Regions from separate parts of the Homo sapiens genome. Here regions 1, 3 and 4 are each linked to region 2. Evidence: promoter capture Hi-C in human tissues and cell types (Jung and others, 2019). All regions are on one chromosome and are shown on one strand. Each heading gives the region's core, a stretch centred on a gene start or on the middle of the fragment in contact. The rest is flanking DNA. Distances are from core to core; before and after follow the strand shown. Region 1 has its middle 36 kb from the start of TPPP. Region 2 holds the start of AHRR (aryl hydrocarbon receptor repressor). Region 3 overlaps CEP72 (centrosomal protein 72). Region 4 holds the start of CEP72 (centrosomal protein 72).

Region 1 (4,523 bases), core at 1,440-3,939, 340 kb after region 2:
GGGTGGCTCACACCGTAATCCCAGCACTTTGGGAGGCTGAGGCAGGAGGATCACTTGAGGCCAGGAGTTTGAGACCAGCCTGGCCAACATGGCGAAACTCCATCTCTGCTAAAAATGAAAATTAGCTGGGCATGGTGGTGGGCACCTGTAGTCCCAGCTTCTTGGGGGGCTGAGGCAGGAGAATCGTTTGAACCTGGGAGGCGGAGGTTGCAGTGAGCCAAGATTGCAGCACTGCACTCCAGCCTAGACGACAGAGCAAGACTCCGTCTCAAAAAAAAAACAAAAAAACTCCATTTGATTTTTTTCATTAGTTTTATATCCCATTATGTTCACGTTTCCATTAACTGCTTAACCATGTTTTTAACAGGTTTACTAGAAATTCCCAACTGTTCCAAAGTGGTGGTACCCGCAGGCCCGACTGCTAGTTGTGTATGACCACGTCTGCCGGTCCATGTTTTCAGCACCCATTGCCTGAAGTGTTAGCACCTTCACTCCGGTGGGTGTGGGGTAGTGGAGGGAGTGGGGTGGTGGAGGGCGCGGGGTGGCGGAGGGCGCGGGGTGGTGGAACGTGTGGGGTAGACCTCTTTCTGGTTTCATTGGCTTCTCCTTGTTCAGCACCTTCTCATGTGTCTGCGGCTCATTGGGATTTCCTGTTTGTAAAGTACCTATTCAAGTATTTTCCCTACTTTTCTATTGGATGGTCTGTCTCATTTATTTGCAGGTGTTATTTATGATTCTGGGTAGTAGTGCTTTGTGAATTACATTTGCAAATAGCTTTTCTTGTCTTTTTACTTCAATGGTGTCTTTTAAGAGAAATTTTAAACTTTAATATGGCCCAATGTATCAATATTTTCTTTTATGATTAAAGCATTTTGGATCCTAATTTTTAATAATCTTTACTTTGCCTTGATCATAAAGATACTCTGTTACCTTCCAAAGGATTTTATAGTTTTGTATATTTTGGATTTTAGATATAGATTCTACCCAGAATTGATTTTTGCGCCTGTTGTGAAGCTTAAGGATCCAGTTTCATTGTGTTGCAGACATAAGCCCAGTTTTCCCAGTCCCGGCTGCTGAAGATTCCTTTGTCAGGATGATCTCTGTGTCCGTTTCTGCATCTCCTTGTCTGTCTCTGCCAATACCACACACTCTGGGGCGCGTACCTCCATCTTATGTTAGGATGTCTTGGCTGTTTTTGACCCTTTGTGTTTCATACATTTTAGAACTAGCCGGTCGAGTTGGGATTTTGTTTGGGATTGTGTTGAACCTGTAGATCAACTTGGGAATCATTGACGTACTTGCAGTACTGGGTTTTACAAGCTCTGAACATGGTATCTGTCTCTCCAAATGTTAGGGCTCCTTCAGCGGGTGTTCATACAGCCTGATACTTTTCACAGTGGTCTTGTATGTCTTTTGTTACATTTAATCCTAGGTCCTTGTTATTTTGCGATGCTGTTTTTAAAAATGTGCTTGGATTTCATTTTCCTAATTATGTGTTGCCATTTCATGGAAATTCATTTTTGTGTATTAATTTGTATCCGGCAGTCTAGTAATTTTAATCATTTGCCTGTAGCTGTTTCCTCATTTTTAGGCACACAGTCATGTTTTCTATGAGTAATGGGTTTTCTTTCCCATTCCTGTTGTTCTGGATTTTTACTTTATGTTTTTATTTTTGTTTTGTTTTTTGCTTTTCTACACTGGTCGGAACCCCTAGTGCAGTGCTGATTAGAGGTGGTAACAGAGTGGGCATCGTTGTCTTCTTCCTGATATTCAAAGGGGTGATAAATTCTCACCATTTATCCACTCACTTGTAATGGATTTTTTTTGCTTGTTTTAAAGCTTCTTCTATCAATAATTCGCCTCAAGAATGGATGACTTTTATCACTTTTTCTGCAGTGATGGAGATGACCATGATTTTTATCATTTAATATATTGATGTGTTTAACGACCATAATTTGCTTTTGTTAAAAATAAACCTTGAATTTCTGAGATAAGTCCAACTTAATAATTATGGATTTTCTTTTACATACATATTGTTATATTTGGTTTGTTAATATTTTGTTTAGCATTTTGTGGCCCAGCTATACTACCTAGCACCTGTGTTTGGGCCCTGATTTCCTCGTCTGTACAATGGGGAAATAGTGGCTTCCTCACAGGATTGTTGTGAAGGTGAAATGAGTTAGTATGAATAAGACTCTCGGGCAGCATCTGGTGCGTCCTGAGCACTGGGTAGCTGCGTGCTCTAGTACAGTGGTTAGTATCTCTCTTCACGGGTGACAGCCACTTACGATTTTCCTTTGTAATGCTGTTCTTGAAAGGATTCGCATCTTTACACCACCGTAAAATGAGCTAGGTTGTGTATTCTTTCTCCATTCTCTAGGAGAATTTACTTAAGATTATAATTATTTCTTCCATGGATGTTTGATGGAACTTGCTGGTGAAGTCACTTGTGCCTGGAACTTTCTTTGTCAGGAGGTTTGACTACTGATCCAGTATAACTCAGTGTTCCAGGATGTGGCAGAACCGTTCACACAGACCATCCTTATGTCCCCCCTGCCTTTACGCTGCATATCCCTGAGTTGGGCTGGGGCCGTGTGACTACTGAGCAACAGCCTGTGTGTGGGACTGAGGTGAGTCATTTCAGGGCCAGAGCAGCGGGAGCTGGTGCGTCACTGTGATAGCTTCCCTGCCAGTGACCTGGGCAGCTGCATCACAGGATTAGGAAGTCTGTTTGTCTTCTGTTAGAAGAGATCTCTTGTTATTCCTGAAGTTGGACGTTGTGTGAGTAATACATTTTGTGTGTCCAGCCACTGAAGTGTTAGGGGTTTTCTTTTGTAGCTGGCAGTGACTTCCCCTAAGTCACAGGGCTGAGCAGGCTTTCCATTTCTTTTCGAGTTAGTTTTTGTAAGTTATGTGTCTCTAAGAATTGGTCCATATTGTCTTAATTTTCCATTTTGGGGGGTATAACACACATAATTTGAATGGCTTCAACATTTGAAGTTGTGTGTGTCCCTGTGGCAGAGATGTAGGGACAGTTGTGTCCCTTCAAGCGAGACCTTGCCATCCAGGGGCAGGGAGTACAGGGGTAGAGACCATCTCCAGCCACCATGCTGTCAGGCTGTGCCTGGGCTCTGGAGCTGAGGACACACTCATCCAGGCAGCTGCAGCCAGTGTCCAAGCAGGCAGGGCCTGGGCCTAATGCGAACCACAGGGAGCTCCCTAGCAGGTCATCTCCAGAGCCTCCCTGAGGCCTCCCGGCCTCCTCCCCTTGCTGCTGTTCAGGGGCATTCCTCACCAGTGAGCCTCTTGTGATACAAAGGCCACCTCAGCATCTGCCTCCCGGGGACTCAGCCCATTCTTGGCCATTCTTCATATTCGTTATTTGAACTTTCTCTTCAGTCCTTTCAAAGAAACACCCTTTGCCTCCATTTTCTTTTCAATTTCTGATCTGATCTATCATTAGCCATGCTGAAATTACAAATAAATATGGGTTAAAATATTATTTTATCAATTTCCCTGTTCTGTGTTTCTTTCTCTTGTTTTATCAGCAAAGCTGATTTTTTTTTTTTTTTTTTTTTTTTTTTTTTTTTTTTTTTTTGAGATGGAGTCTCGCTCTATTGCCCAGGCTGGAGTGCAGTGGCGTGATCTCGGCTCACTGCAAGCTCCGCCTCCCGGGTTCACGCCATTCTCCTGCCTCAGCCTCCCGAGTAGCTGGGACTACAGGCGCCCGCCACCACGCCTGGCTAATTTTTTGTATTTTTAGCAGAGACAGGGTTTCACTGTGTTAGCCAGGATGGTCTCAATCTCCTGACCTTGTGATCTGCCCGCCTCGGCCTCCCAAAGTGCTGGGACTACAGGTGTGAGCCACCGCGCCCGGCCTCAGCGAAGCTGATTGATCCACCATCTCATTAGTTTAAATCTGCCATCTCATTTTGTGCTGTTTGTTCTATTCATGGTTTTTTCCCTCTTCACTTTTGCCACTTTTGGATGATCTCCTGTCATCCCGCATGTCCCTCTGCTCGTTTGGAGACTGTACTCTGCTTCTGTCCCATGCTTATGGCATGTGTGCGTTTAGTCCATGCTCTCACCCACCTCTGGGGTTGGTTCCTGGAGCGCGAGGCGCGCGTCCCTCTCCATGCTCCTGTTCTGCTCACCTGTGGGGGTTCCCAAGTATTTTTATGAAACATTTTAATCTCACAAAGTATTGATATAGCCACTGTTAATTTGGAGTTATTGACCTATTTATTCTCTTTGCTCCACTTTCTTCACAAACCAGACATGCCATTTGAGATCACCTTTGCTTTCTGCATTTAGAATTTCTTTAAATGTCTGCTGGTGGCAAATTCTCTTTTCATTGTCCAAAAATGCCTTTATTGTATCCTCATTTTGGAAAACTGTTTCGCTGGGCTAGTATCTCAGGTTGGCATTTTTTTTATAGCAGCCTGTGATGACATTGTCCTGTTTTGGGGGCTCTGGTGGTGTTCACAGTGTTCATGTCCATTCCCCTTGAATCTAGACCCCAC
Region 2 (4,698 bases), core at 2,199-4,698:
CTCCCCCCACCCTGCATCTCCCCCCAACCCTGCACCTCCCCCAATCCTTCACCTCCCCCCTCACCCTCCACCTCCCCCCCTCACCCTGCGGCAAGCAGAGAGCTGACTCCAGCACAGTGAACTTGGAATGATGGAATGCACCCTGGAAGCAGCTCTGACGGGCGCCACCGTGACTGTGCCCAGCAGGGAGCTCCCTTGTGGTTTTTAACAAAAGACAAAATTCCCCAGGTCCTTCTCTGTGCTACAGGAGAAACTGGTGTGGGAGAGGGAACCCAGGCGTGACCAGGGAGAAACTGGTGTGGGAGAGAGAGGGAACCCAGGCGTGACCAGGGCTGCCCAAGCGGCTCCCTGTGAGGCATCAACGCTGGAGACACAGCAGTCATGGGGAACCCGGGGAACCCGGGAAACCCAGCCGCCATCAGAGAGCCAGAGAGCCGCAGGCGCCTGTGCGGGGTCCTGGCCTGGCCCGAGGGGTCAGCACACCCCTGTCTGCCTCTGAGGTCAGGGCCCTGGGGGCTCCTGACCTGGCCTGCCTGTGGGAGGCAAAGGTGTGGCCAGGAGAGGACAGGAGGGGGCAGTCACAGTCACCACTCCTGGAGGCCCATGAAGAGCAGCTTTGCCCCCACACTTCTGTGAAGCCAACTTGGGCCTGTTTGGGAGGGGCCTGGCGCTGCAGCCGGCCGTGGGCACCTGCCATGTGGCGGTCCACTGGAGGCCAAGTCCAGCTCATATGGCTCTGGGGACCCACCGCACCAGACTCCAGTGTGGGGGTACCCGGAGCTGGGGGTGGGTCCTCGGAGGCTTCCAGTCCTGCCCCAGCTGCCATCCCTGCCAGGTGTTAGCGCCTCTGGTTCAGAGTCCCGAGAGGACCAGTGGCCCAGGAGAAAGGGGTGTGTCTCCAGCTGCTGGGAGTGTGGGTGGGAGCCAGAGGGTTCAATGACACTGGGGACAGCAAGTCCGGACTGGAGGGAGGAGACCTCCTGAACAGGGTCCCCAGCACAGAGGCAGAAAGGAGACTCTGTGACTGGGGGTGTCAGCTGCATCTGGACCTTCGTGGTGGGGAGGGAGGCACGCCCAATAGCCCGTCTGAACGGGAGGTGGCTCAGGGATCCCCCATTGTGCTGGTGGGGTGCCCAGAGACTCCAGGACTCCACGTGGGGCTCTGCCTGCTAAACCCTGAGACTTTAGGGGCAGTGGCTCCCACGGCAGGGTCATCCTTTTTCTGCACAGTCCCACTGGCTGCCCCAGGTCCTGCAGAGACCTGAGACTTTGGGGACAAGCACAGGGGACAGGTGGGCGTGGATGGCCTGTGCCGGTCAAGGGCAGTGGGAAGGAAGGAGGAGCAGTTTCCTTCTGTACCCAGGAAATAGAGTAACAAAGTGTCTCATTCCAGTTGGTTCTGGTGGGACAGGGTAGGTGGAAGGGAACCCGTGCTTGCCCTGAGACATGGGGGTGCTGTCTTCCCATGCAGGGGGACTGCGGCTCACCACCATCACATTCTACCCACAGGTTCTTATTTTAACAGATCACAAAGGTACTATGTGCTTCTTGCAAAAATTTACAGGAATTGTAGACTTTTCAAAAAGTAAAAAGAAATTAAAGTTCACCTGTTACCTCAGAGTTATCCAGCTACACATTTTCTGTGCATAATTCACTTTACAAAAATTGGATCAAGATAAAACTAATGATTTTTAAAAATACAGCAATATAGTTGCACATTGTTCCATATCAAAAAATAAATGTGTGCACCCAGGGCTCCTGGCTGTCTCAGTGGCATAGTGGCTCATGCCTGTAATCCCAACACTTTGGCAAGCCGAGGTGGGTGGATCACCTGAGGTCAGGAGTTCGAGACCAGCCTGGCCAAGATGGCAAAACCACTATCTACTTAAAAAAAAAAAAAAATTAGCCAGGTGTGGTGGCGCGCGACTGTAATCCCAGCTACTTGGGAGGCTGAGGCACGAGAATCGCTTGAGCCCTGGAGGCAGAGGCTGCAGTGAACTGAGATCGCACCACTGCTCTCAGGCCTGGGTGACAAAGCAAGACTCTGTCCCAAAAAAGCCCATTTACTCAGCTCACATTTTTGAGCCTCTGCTATTCGACAGGAACCAGAGGTGAGCAGAGCCGACTTGGTGACCCCTGGGGACAGAGCGGCAGAACTCAGCAATTCTGGGCTGCCCTGCAGGAGCTACACCCGGGGAGGGGCGGTGGCCACTTGGGGGCAGGGTGGGCTTCTCAGCTGCGCCCACCCCACCTTGGGAGCTGTGTCTGGAAAAGAGACTTTTCCTGAGCCGACAGCAGACAGCGAGTGCAAAGGCCCCAAGGCCCGCACGCCTTATTCAGAGAACAGCAGGAGGCGCGGGGCGGGTTGGGGGCGTCAGGGAGACGGGGTTTGACTGAGAACCTGGGGGCGCCAGTGACAGCCTCGGCCGCGTTGCTGAAAACCGACCTTGCGGGATGAAGAGGGCGCGGTTCCCCCGGCTGGGATGAGGACCGCGGATGCTGAGGAGCGGACTCCAGGGACCACCGACTCCATGGCCGGCCCCAGCGAGGGCGAGAACGGGTGGAAGCCGGCCAGGGTCTGTGGAGACGTCAGGGTGCGAGGCCAGGCTGAGGTGTCCCCAGGGATCCCCTGAGGGTACAGGGAATTCAGCCAGGGCCTGCGCGCCCGGACGGAGGACTAGAGGGGGCCAAGGACCACCGGGAGGGGGAAGGAGAAGGCGCAGCCCGAGGTCGGAGGGGCCGGCGGGCGCGCAGAGGGCGCGGGGTGAGCCCTAAGGACCTGCAGGCAGGACCCTGCTCTCGGCCGCGCGGTCCCGGGTGCCGACCGGCGGGGTGGGCGGGGCAGGGGCACCCAGGGCCGCACACCTGCCGCGTGGGACCCTGAAATGCCCAGGACGAAGAACGTCGCACGGACGACCCTGCCGTGCCTGGCGCGCGTCCGCTTCCTGGGAAGCTCAGGATCCAAAAGCATCTTAATATTCTCTATAATTCGCCAAAAACCATGACTCCTTTTACATTTTCGAAACGACCTCATGGGGCAGGCGAGGGGGCACACGCTCTCCTCACTTTACCTGTTCGGGTCTACACCGCCCGGCTCTAGGGCCGGCAGCTCAGCACAGCCGGCCGCGAGCGCTGGGGAGGGGACGGGGGCGCAGGGAGAACCGGGGGACCCTGGGCGCACACAGACCCCAGGGGGAACGCAGGGCCTGGAGGGGCTCAGCGCGCGACCCCCGCCTCGGGGCACGGAGACTCCGGGGGATCACTGGGACGCGAAGGGCGCAGGGCGGACCCCAGGGGAACCGGATGGCGTCTCCGGTTCGCCAGGGCAGCTGGGGCAGCCGGACCCGAGACAGCCGGACCCGCGGGCGCCCTCTGCCGCCTCCCGGCCCTGGATGCTGCGGGGCGGGGCGGGCGGCTCGCGTGCCGGGGTGGGGCAGTCCCTGGAGCCGCCGCGGGTTCCCGGGATGCGAGCGCCGGCACCCGCCGCCACAGCTCCTGGCCAGGGCGCGCTGCCCCGCGGGTGTGCCTGAGCCTCCGCGCCCCGCAGGCCCTGGGTAAGTGTCCTGGGCGCCCCCGCAGGCCCCCGCCGCGTGCCGCCCGCGGTGGAGACGGGATGCGCTCCCGGGTGTGGGGCTGAGGGACGGGCGCCGGCGTCGGGACCCTCCTCACGCCGCATCCTCGCGTCGCCAGGCCCGGCGGCCCCGGGACGGGGCGGACACTCTGGGGTGCGGCTGGCTGGTCTCACTTAAAACTCGGACCTCGGAGGGAAGCCGCGGCGCGTCCACGGTTCGTGGTCCTCAGCGTCCCCTCGAGAGTGTTCTGAGCCTTCACTCCCCGGGCGTTCCGTGCGGGCCGCGCTCCCTGGGGCTGGGCGGGTGCGGGCGGCGGAGCGGGGCCCCGCTGTCGGGCCGAGGGCGCCAGGTCCGGGGGGCCTCACCCCCGGGAAAGGCCCATGTTCAGGCTTGGTTTCAGTAGCACCCAGTAGCGCTGAAGTCTTATTTTGAGCGGCCAGAATTCCCAGACCGGATGCCCTGAGAGAGCGATGTGGCGCCTGGAGTCCACGCTGGGACCCCTTCTGGGGAGGGGTCGCCATGGGCGCGTGACAGGCAGGGGCCACCCTCTGACCTCTTCTGCGAGGCCGGAGGTCAGAGACCTTGTGCAGAAGCGTCCCACGGGCCTGTCCCACGGGCCTGTCCGGCTGTGGCCTCCGGGATGGCAAGGGCAGGCGGGGAGGGGCTTCCTCCCTGGGCCTCCTGTGCGCGCGCACAGGCTCTCGTCTGCGGGGTTCTTGCAGAAGGGTGGGCGTGTGCGCGCGTTCTCCAAACGCCACCCCCACGGGGCCTCACAGCCGCCCCGGCCTGGCAACCGTCACCCATTTTACGAACGAGGACATCAAGGTAGGTCGCTCATCCAGCCTCTCAGAGCAAGTGACTGGCGGCGTTTGGACTCGGGCCGAGTGTGCCATACCCATCCCGCACAAAGCCGGGGCTCGATGCGGCCCCAGAGTCGCTGAAAAGCCACGAGTAACAAGAACTGGAGAACGTAGGATGCTGACCCGGCGGACGCCGCCGCCTGGGGAGCCGCTTCGACGGGGGGGACGCCACCGCCTGGGGAACGGCTTTTATTTTCGTTTTCTTACTTATCTGTATTCTCTAAAATGAACAGACACGAGTTTTACCACGGGAGAAAGGTTCTTAG
Region 3 (4,319 bases), core at 282-2,781, 320 kb after region 2:
ACTGTGGGTGCAGGCTGCTTCCTGGGCAGCTCCTTTTGAACACAGGCTCTGACTGCGGCCTGGATGTGTCTTCCGCTTCCCTGTCTGGGTTGAGGGGAGGAGTCTGGGGCCTGCTTGAGTTGGGAATGTGTGGGCCCCGTCCTGTCCTGTCATCGAGACCTCACTCATCCAGGACCGGTGCACCTGGCTAAGCCTCACTGGGCAGGCACTGCTGAGCCGCCCTCCACCTGGCTCAGGGCTGGGGCCTCAGGGCACCTGTCCTCCCCTTCGTGGTGCGAGGGCATCCCAGGGTGCGCTTGGGCACCTGCTGGCATTCAGGACCTCAGTTACTGACTCGCTGGCCTCATGCTGTTGTTTCCATCACAGCCGTCTCCCGGGTCACACTCGGCTCTACCCGGGAAGAAGACGGCCCTGCAGGCGGCGCTCCTGGAGACGCTCTTGGACCTGGTGGACAGGAGCTGGGGCGGCTGCAGGTCCCTGCACAGCAACGAGGCATTCCTTGGTGAGTCAGGGCGGCCACTGCTCTTGCCCTGTAGGCAGCGTCTGTGTGGGTTCCGGGGTCCTCTGCGTGTGGTGACCTAGGAGTCATCTCAGCCCCAGGTCTCCTATGTCCCCTCCCACGAGCGTGTGGTGGTCCCGCGCCTGGGCCCTCCCTGGCAGTCTTTGCATCTCACAGTGTCCAGGGCTCTCGGGAGACACCACATGGGCCTGGGCCTGTGGGTCCCCCGCTGTGCTCTGGGGTGTTGGGGGGCCTGTCACCTCATTTTGCTCAAAATGCTGTCCAAAGGGGCTTGGTTCTGATGGCTGTGATCACATGGGGATTTGGAGTTTGGAAGCTGCTCAGCATCTTCTCCCCCGACCCAGACGTGTAGCCTGTGCTGGGCCTGGATTGCAGAGCTTTTGGTTGGTGTGGGACCCAGGAGGGTGGTCCCTCCCCAGAGAGGACTTGGGTCTGTTGGATTCTACCAGGCAACCCGTACATGAGCACACTGGGGCCTCCCTCATCCAGGATCACACTGGGAGACCAGGAGATGCCGCGTCCCCAGGGGCACCTTCTCTTTGTCCTGCATCCTGGGGTGTGGCTGTGTGTGTCCCTCAGGAGCCTAGCCAGTGTGCTTCTCCCCGCAGACCCTGGGCACGGCTCTGAGCTGTCTGACTGCGCCTTGCAGTGTTATAGCCCCTCAGCTCCTAGAATGAGGACGCCCTGCAGTCGCAGCCCACCTGGACCCCAGCCCCATAAACCTCCCCTCTCCCTAGGCTGGTGTCCTGTGGGAGCCTCCTGAGCTTGCCATCGTCGGTGGCGGGGGGACTGTCCCAGGCCCAGGCCACTGTCCCAGTGTGGAGTTGCCAGCTGTCGTCTGCATGGTGGTTTCCACACAGGGCAGTCGGTGCTTGTGGAAGGCGCAGCGAGTTGTGGCGGCGCCACTGAAACCTTGAGACGTGGCGGCCCCTGGTTGCCCCTTTTCTTGGAGGTCACCTCTTCTCTTTCTTCAGTTCCCACCCTGCCCGTGTGTGGACGCACAGAGCCTGAGGTGGTTTTGTGGCGCCAACACCCCTTTCCCCTCTCCCTACCTGTCGTCTTTTTGAGGCATCGTCTGTGTGATTCAAAACATACTGAGCCGATTTTGTTTACATTTCATCCTTTAAGCCTAAGTGCTAATGTAATATTTGGTTTTCACTCCTAGCTCAGGCAAGACACATCTTGTCATCTGTTGAAGAATTCACAGCAGCTCAGGACAGCTCTGCGATGGTGGGTGAAGATGTCGGCTCCCTGGCTCTGGAGAGTAAGTCCCTGCAAAGCCGCCTTGCTGAGCAGCAGCAGCAGCACGCCCGGGAGATGAGCGAGGTGACGGCGGAGCTGCACCACACACACAAGGAGCTGGTGAGCCCGCCCTGGCGCTGTGTCTGTGTCCATGTGACTGGGGGAAACATGGCTCTGACTTCCAGGAACGAGGGCAGCTCCTTGATGCCACACTGTCCCAACTGCCATCTCTGCAGCCCCATGTCTCCACTCCCTGCCCGGGACCCGGCCACCCCCGGAACGCGGCCTGCCCTGTCTCACAACAGGCCTGGAGCACTTTGGAGACAGCAGTGGCGCTGGCCACCTTCTCTCCCCGGGCCCAAGGGACCCTCCACCACTGGGCAGTGCCGGGTGCTGCAGGAGCCAGGCCTGGACGTGACTTTGTCTTGCTGACCCATCTCTCAGGGCCTCGAACTGGGGAAAACCGAGGCCACTCTCCTTTTATGAAGGAGATGACGGCCAGTGTCCCATGGTGAGCTGGGGCTACAGGGCAAGTTACCCCAAAACCAGCAGCTGAAAACCTGCATTTATCACCTTGGATTTCTGTGTATTGGGCCTCAGGCTCAGCTCAGCCAGGCTCCCTCCTTCCGTCTCAGCCGTGGGCCGGGGCCGCCGTCTCATCTGAGGCCTCATGGGGGCTCTGTCTCAGCCGTGGGCTGGGGCCACCGTCTCATCTGAGGCCTCACGGGACAGGATCCTCCCAGGCTCCCTCCACGCTGCAAGGGCCTCCCCACGGGCTGCTGGCATCCTTAGCACAGGGAGCTGGTGGTCAGAGAGCCACACCCAGGCAGAAGCCGCCCTCCGGGAGTCCTGGTGTGAGGGCAGAGCCACGTGAGGATGTGCACATCCAGAGGGGCCTTGTCAGCATCTTTAAATTGCGAGTGAAGTCGGCCCGGGACGGCTTCGAAAACTGCCTCTGAACTTGTCTGACAAGTACATACTGTCCGTTTCATGGGAACCAACATCTCAGAGATCCCACACAACGCTTCCTCTTTAGAGAAGAAAAACACAGCAAAACAACACAGGCAGCCTCTGTTTAAACGCACGTGGCCCCCCCACCCCGCCTGGAAGCCTCTGCACGTGGCCTTCATCTGGAAGCCTCTGTATTTAAACACATGTGGGCCTCCTCCATCTGGAAGCCTCTGTATTTAAACACACGTGGGTCCCCATCCCCCGTCCAGAAGTCTCTGCATTTAAACACACATGGCCCCCCATCCCCCATCCAGAAGCCTGTGCATTTAAGCACACGTGGTCCCCCGTCTAGAAGCCTGTGCATTTAAGCACACGTGGTCCCCGGTCCAGAAGCCTCTGCATTTAAGCACACGTGGTCCCCCGTCCAGAAGCCTGTGCATTTAAACACACGTGGTCCCCCGTCCAGAAGCCTGTGCATTTAAACACACGTGGTCCCCCGTCCAGAAGCCTCTGCATTTGAACACACGTGGTCCCCCGTCTAGAAGCCTGTGCATTTAAGCACACGTGGTCCCCCGTCTAGAAGCCTGTGCATTTAAACACACGTGGTCCCCCGTCTAGAAGCCTCTGCATTTAAGCACACGTGGTCCCCCGTCCAGAAGCCTGTGCATTTAAACACACGTGGTCCCCCGTCCAGAAGCCTCTGCATTTGAACACACGTGGTCCCCCGTCTAGAAGCCTCTGCATTTAAACACACGTGGTCCCCCATCTAGAAGCCTCTGCATTTAAGCACACGTGGTCCCCCGTCCAGAAGCCTCTGCTTTTAAACCAACGTGGCCCCTCCTCTGGAAGCCTCTGTATTTAAACACACATGGCCCCTCATCTGGTGGAAGCCTCTGGATTTAAGCACACATGGCCCCTTCTCTGGAAGCCTCTATATTTAAACACGTGTGGCCCCCCGTCTGGAAGCCTTTATACTGAAACACACGTGACCGGCTGTCTGGAAAGTGAGCTGGGCGCCGTCACTGATGATGTCTTTTCTGTGGGACACAGTCAGGCACACCCCTTGCCCTTCTGAGCCTGGGACGAGACAGAGCTGACAGGCGGAGCCCAAAGGTGTGCCGAGCACCAGTGCTGCCAGGGGTGAGAGTCACATGCAGCTGTGGCTGCCGTGGACGCCTGCTTTTTTGCCCTCTGCAGTTTGCCTAACCCCTGCAGTTTGCAGGCAGCCCTGGGCCTCTGGACAGAGCAGCCCTGGTTCCCTGTCAGGGTGAGTGATCCAGAAGAATCTGGCAGCCCGAGCCCCGCGGGTAAGGAGCAGTCAGCACCGTCAGGAACCCCGCGGAGGGAGCAGCCGTGCAGGCTGGTGGGCACTGCTTTCCAGGGAGGCCCACATCTGTCACTCCAGAAGCACCCAAGTTTACTCTGCCACGTGAGGACGCTCATCCCTCGGTCACATGAACCTAGACCTTGCTTCCTTTGGAAGCTGCAGTCGGGTGTCCTGAGGCAAGGTGGCCCCACTTCCAGCTGCTGTGCCTGGCACGGCCTCTGAGGCAGATGGGCTGCGCCCAGCTTGGGTGCAGTCGGTCCTCTGTTCCCTGCACCTGTC
Region 4 (4,598 bases), core at 560-3,059, 290 kb after region 2:
TACCCCCTGCACACACCTCTACACATACCTTCACACACCATGTATACCTCCTGCACACACCTCTGCACACACCTCCTGCACACACCTTGTGTACACTCCCTGCACACTGTTGCACACACCCCCTGCACATAGCCTCTGCACACAGCCTGTGTACACTCCCTGCACAGATCCCCTGCACACACCTCCCACACACATCCTCTGCACAAACCCTGTGTATACCTCCTGCACACACATCTACACACACCTCCTGCACACACCTTGTGTACACCCCCTGCACACTGTTGCACACACCTCCTGCACACACCTCCTGCACACACTGTTGCACACACCCCCACACATAGCCCCTACACACACCTCTGCACATACTGTTGCACACACCCCCACACATAGCTCCTGCACACACCTCCTGCACACACCTCCTGCACACACTGTTGCACACACCCCCACACATAGACCCTGCACACACCTCCTGCACACACTGTTGCACACACCCCTTGCACATACACCCTGTATATACCCCCTGCATACTCCTTATGTACAGCACTGCACATACTCCCTGCAGAGACCCTGTGTGCATCCTCTGCACACACCCCTTCTGTATACTGTCTGCACACACCCCCTACATGTACACCCTCTGCACACTCCTCCTGCATACACCCCATGTACACCTTCTGCACACACTCCCTGAACACATTCTGAGTACACCTCCTGCACACCCCGTGTACAACCTCTGCACACACCCCCTACACACTCCCCTACACACTCCCCTACACCATCCACACACACTCCCTGCACACAGCCCCTGCACACATTCCCCATGTACACCCTCTGTCTGTGTATACCCTCGTCTACTACCACCATACGTACCCCCCACCACTACCCTGCCTTGTCTATCACCCCCCAGGCTGTGACATACCAGGGATGTTGCCAACGAGCTGGTCTAATCTGGGGTGAGGGTTTCTGGGTGCCCCTAGACACCAGGAGAAAGGCGGGGAGGGGACACCCCTGGGGGTCTGGATTCACTCCACCAGGCGCTGGGCCACAGTGGTACGGTGACACAGTAGATGTCTTGAGCAGGATTAAAGTCTTCCCAATAAACAGGCTGAACTCTGTCTTCCTTGAAAGCTCTGTAGAAGGACCTCACAAGGATAAACACAGCGAGACCCTCCAGGGCGCGGTCAGCCACGAGCCACAGTGCTGGGCCTGTGACATCTCTGGAGGTTCTGGGGTGGAGAAGGACCGGCCGTGGGGAGTGACTGGCTGGGGAGAAGCTCAGCTCCCGCCCACCTCTGGGAGGCCCGGGGCTGGACGGGAGGTGCAGCAGACAAGGCTCCGGGCGGGTGCTGGGGTGTCTGGAGGGGTCCCCGCGGGGGGGTCGGGTTGGGTGGGGAGTCTAGGTGAGTCGGGGGTCCCCGGGGGCGCTGGGTTCAGGGTGGGAGCGGAGTGTGGATGGGGCAGGGTCCCCATGCCCACCACCAGCCGCGATTCCACCGCGCCTACTCGGGGTTTCCCCGGGAGGACACCGCGTGTGTCAAGGGCCGGGGCCTAGAAGGCGGCCGCGCCCAGGGAAGCCTTGACAGGGAGCTATCTGGGGCGGGGGCTGGGGTCGCGTGGCCAGTACCTGGGAGAACCGCCATTCAGGAGAACCCCCCGCCAGGCTCTTGGTTCCGCCCACGCAGTCCCGCCCCCTCCCCCAGCCACGCCCCTCGCCCCGCCGCGCAGGCCCCGCCCCGTCCCGCCAGGCTCTCGGTTCTGCCGACGCAGGTCCCGCCCCTCTCGTAGCCTCGCCCCGCCCGCCGCGCAGGCGCCGTCCGAGGGCTCCGTTTGAAACATGGCGCGGGCTGGCCCTCGGCTGGTGCTGAGCGAGGAGGCGGTTCGGGCGAAGAGCGGCTTAGGGCCTCACCGCGACCTGGGTGCGCCGGAGGGCGGGCGGGGGTGCAAGCGTGAGGTGGCGGGGGGGTGGGTGCCGAGCTTCCCGGGGCGGCGGCGGACCGTGGGCAGGCGGGACCCGTCTACGCAGGCGCCGCGGGCGTCCGGAACGGTCGCGGGCGAGCGGGGCGCGCGTGTCCAGGTGAGCGACCCACCCCCCGTGCCCAGGTGCGGCCCCTGCCCGCGTTCGGGTCCCGGCGTCCCGGCCCCTGCCTGTCTATCGGGTCACTGGTTCCGTGACTGGGGGTTACATCCGCTGAGAAGAGGGAGCCGGCCTTGCTGTCCAGGAGCGCAGCCCGCCCTCCCGCTGGGGATCACCTCCCTGGTTCTCCTGGGCCCACTCTGTGGTGATTGTTGCGCTCGGCCTTCTTGAGGATGTTGGTGGCCGGTTTCCTTCTTTTTGGCTTATTTTTGTCTGGTTTTGGCGTCAAGGTGAAGCCGAGCTCATAAACTGCTGAGAAGTGTTGCCTTCTCTTATATTTAGAAGAGGTTCTGTAGAGTGTGTGCTCATTGTTTGAATGTTTCCTGGAATTTTCCAGTGAAACCATATGGACATGTCAATTTCTGTTTTTGAAGCTTTTAAATGACAAATTCTGTATCTCTGGTTGTTAGAGAACCGTTCATATTAGTTCACCGCGAGTCTTGGCTGTGTGGGGTTTTGTGGCATTGGCTTATTTGAGCTAACTTGTGGAGTGTGTGTGTTGAGTTGTTTCTGGTGTTCTGTTGTTAGCCTGTTAATGTCTGTGTGTGGTCTGCAGGTGTTACTGGACCAACAGGTTCAGTCAGGTGCTGTGGGGGCCACAGGCCAATACACTGAGACAGTGGGGTTTGCAGCAGAGAAAGAGTTTAAGGCTGGCAGGGGCCCAGCAGGGAGGTGGAAGGAGGCCTCAATCCATCTCCCCAAGGAGATCTGAGCGGTTTTTTTTTTTTAGACGGAGTCTCACTCTGTCGTCCAGGTTGGAGTGCAGTGGCACAATCTCAGCTCACTGCAACCTCCACCTCCCAGGTTCAAGTGATTCACTCAGCCTCCTGAGTAGCTGGGATTACAAGCACGCGCCACCATGCCCGGCTAATTTTTTATATTTTTAGTAGAGACGGGGTTTCACCATGTTGGCCAGGCTGGTCTTGAACTCCTGATCTCAGGTGATCCACCTGCCTTGGCCTCCCAAAGTGCTGGGATTACAGGCATGAGCCACCTACACCCAGCCTGAGCTGGGGGTTTTAGAGGAACAGGACTGTGAGGAGCTGGAAGATTGGTGTTGTCAGTTGGTGGAGGTAAGGGCCATGGAATTATCAGGGTGTGGAAACTGCATTCTTTGGTGAATCCGCTTGCGGGGCCCTTTAGACCAGCTGGCATCAGTCCCCAGGTCCTGAAAGAATATCTCAAATGGAAAACTTAACGGTTTATAATGTCCAGGTTATTATCTGTAGAGTGGTTAAGGGGAACTGTAACCTCGTGACAAAATCCAAGTGATCCTGAGGCAGTAGGCACCACAGGGCTCTGAGGAAGCAGGTGAGAGGGCAGCTGACCTCGGGACATGCCGAGTCCTCCCTTCTTCCCTGATTAGTGCTACAAGGTTTACAGGGATATCCCTTTTCTGTTCCTGATGTTGATAATCTGTGTATTCTTTCTTTTTTAGTCTTGCTAGAGGCTTGTGAATGTTATTGATAGTTTCAAAGAACCGACTTTGGGTTTGATTTTTCTCCAGTGTTTTTCTAGTTTCAAATTTCATTGATTTCTGCTTTTTTTTATTTCCTTCTTTCTGCTTGCTTTGCATTTATTTTATACTTTTCTAAATCCTTGAGGCAAAACTGTAGATTATTGATTTGAGACTTTCCTATTTTCTATTATAAACAGTGCCACAAGTTTCCCTGTAAGCACTGCTTTAGCTGTATCCACAAATTTTGTTATGTTGTATTTTAATTTTCATCCAGTTCAGCGTATTTTAAGAATTTCCCTCGATACTTCCTGTTTGACCTGTGAATTTTTTTTTTTTTTTTTTTTTTGAGGTGGAGTCTCGCTCTGTCACCCAGGCTGGAGTGCAGTGACGCAATCTTGGCTCATTGAAAGCTCTGCCTCCTGGGTTCATGCCATTCTCCTGCCTCAGCCTCCCGAGTAGCTGGAACTCCTGACCTCATGATCCGCCCACCTCGGCCTCCCAAAGTGCTGGGATTACAGGCATGATCCACCGCGCCCGGCCTGACCTGTGGATTTTTAAGGAGTATGTTTTTAACGTTCCATGTGTGGATATTTTCCTGTTATTTTTCTGTGTGATTCCATTATGGCCAGAACATAATCTGTATGATTTTAATTCTTTTAAATTTGTCAGGGTTTGTTTTATGATCCAGCATCTGGTCTATGTTGTTGAATGTTCCAGGTGCACTTGAGTGTGTGTGTATTCTGTTGTTGAGTGGAGTGTTATGTAAATACATAAATATCAATTAGATCCTGTTGGTTGGTGATATTGTTCAGTTCTTCTGTATCCTTGCTGATTTTCTGTCTAGTGACTCTATTAATGACTGAGAGAGGGGTCTGGAACCCTTAACTGTAATTGTGGATTTGTCTGTTTTTTTTTTCACTTTGTATGTTTTGAAGCTCTGTTTGTTGAATTACATAGCTAGGATTTTTATACCTTCTTAGTGGACTGACCCTTTTAGTATATGTAGTC

What was found. The method cuts DNA at HindIII sites, captures the fragments that hold promoters and counts their contacts. A contact is called where the count stands out against the background at its distance.
Region 1: a fragment that was not itself captured here is called in contact with the fragment with the promoter of AHRR in region 2 in 4 of the 25 tissues and cell types used here (IMR-90 fibroblasts, dorsolateral prefrontal cortex, lymphoblastoid cells and 1 more).
Region 3: a fragment that was not itself captured here is called in contact with the fragment with the promoter of AHRR in region 2 in 2 of the 25 tissues and cell types used here (lymphoblastoid cells and mesendoderm cells).
Region 4: a contact is called between the fragment with the promoter of CEP72 here and the fragment with the promoter of AHRR in region 2, in 1 of the 25 tissues and cell types used here (lymphoblastoid cells).

What each region holds. Positions count from the first base shown.
Region 1 is chr5:655,089-659,611 of GRCh38, forward strand. It overlaps a transcript of CEP72 not described here. Among named protein-coding and RNA genes, the nearest start is that of TPPP, 36 kb to the right of the region's middle. The HindIII fragment of the contact is 7,661 bases long and covers 1-4,523 here.
Region 2 is chr5:318,266-322,963 of GRCh38, forward strand. AHRR (aryl hydrocarbon receptor repressor) reads left to right here and starts at 3,449. Exons shown (of 11, transcript NM_001377236.1): 1 at 3,449-3,554. All of the region lies in intron 3 of PDCD6-AHRR (PDCD6-AHRR readthrough (NMD candidate)), which reads left to right. RefSeq lists enhancers at 252-551, 3,685-4,252, 4,341-4,460 and silencers at 2,661-2,920, 3,071-3,560, 3,651-4,030, 4,041-4,100. The HindIII fragment of the contact is 29,634 bases long and covers 1-4,698 here.
Region 3 is chr5:638,723-643,041 of GRCh38, forward strand. It overlaps CEP72 (centrosomal protein 72), which reads left to right. Exons shown (of 12, transcript NM_018140.4): 8 at 367-502; 9 at 1,686-1,882. Among named protein-coding and RNA genes, the nearest start is that of CEP72, 29 kb to the left of the region's middle. RefSeq lists an enhancer at 4,106-4,275. The HindIII fragment of the contact is 9,549 bases long and covers 1-4,319 here.
Region 4 is chr5:610,531-615,128 of GRCh38, forward strand. It overlaps CEP72 (centrosomal protein 72), which reads left to right and starts at 1,810. Exons shown (of 12, transcript NM_018140.4): 1 at 1,810-1,913. The coding sequence starts at 1,832. CEP72-DT (CEP72 divergent transcript) reads right to left here and starts at 1,680. Exons shown (of 3, transcript NR_103444.1): 1 at 1,622-1,680; 2 at 917-1,223. RefSeq lists enhancers at 733-1,663, 1,664-2,593. The HindIII fragment of the contact is 15,731 bases long and covers 1-4,598 here.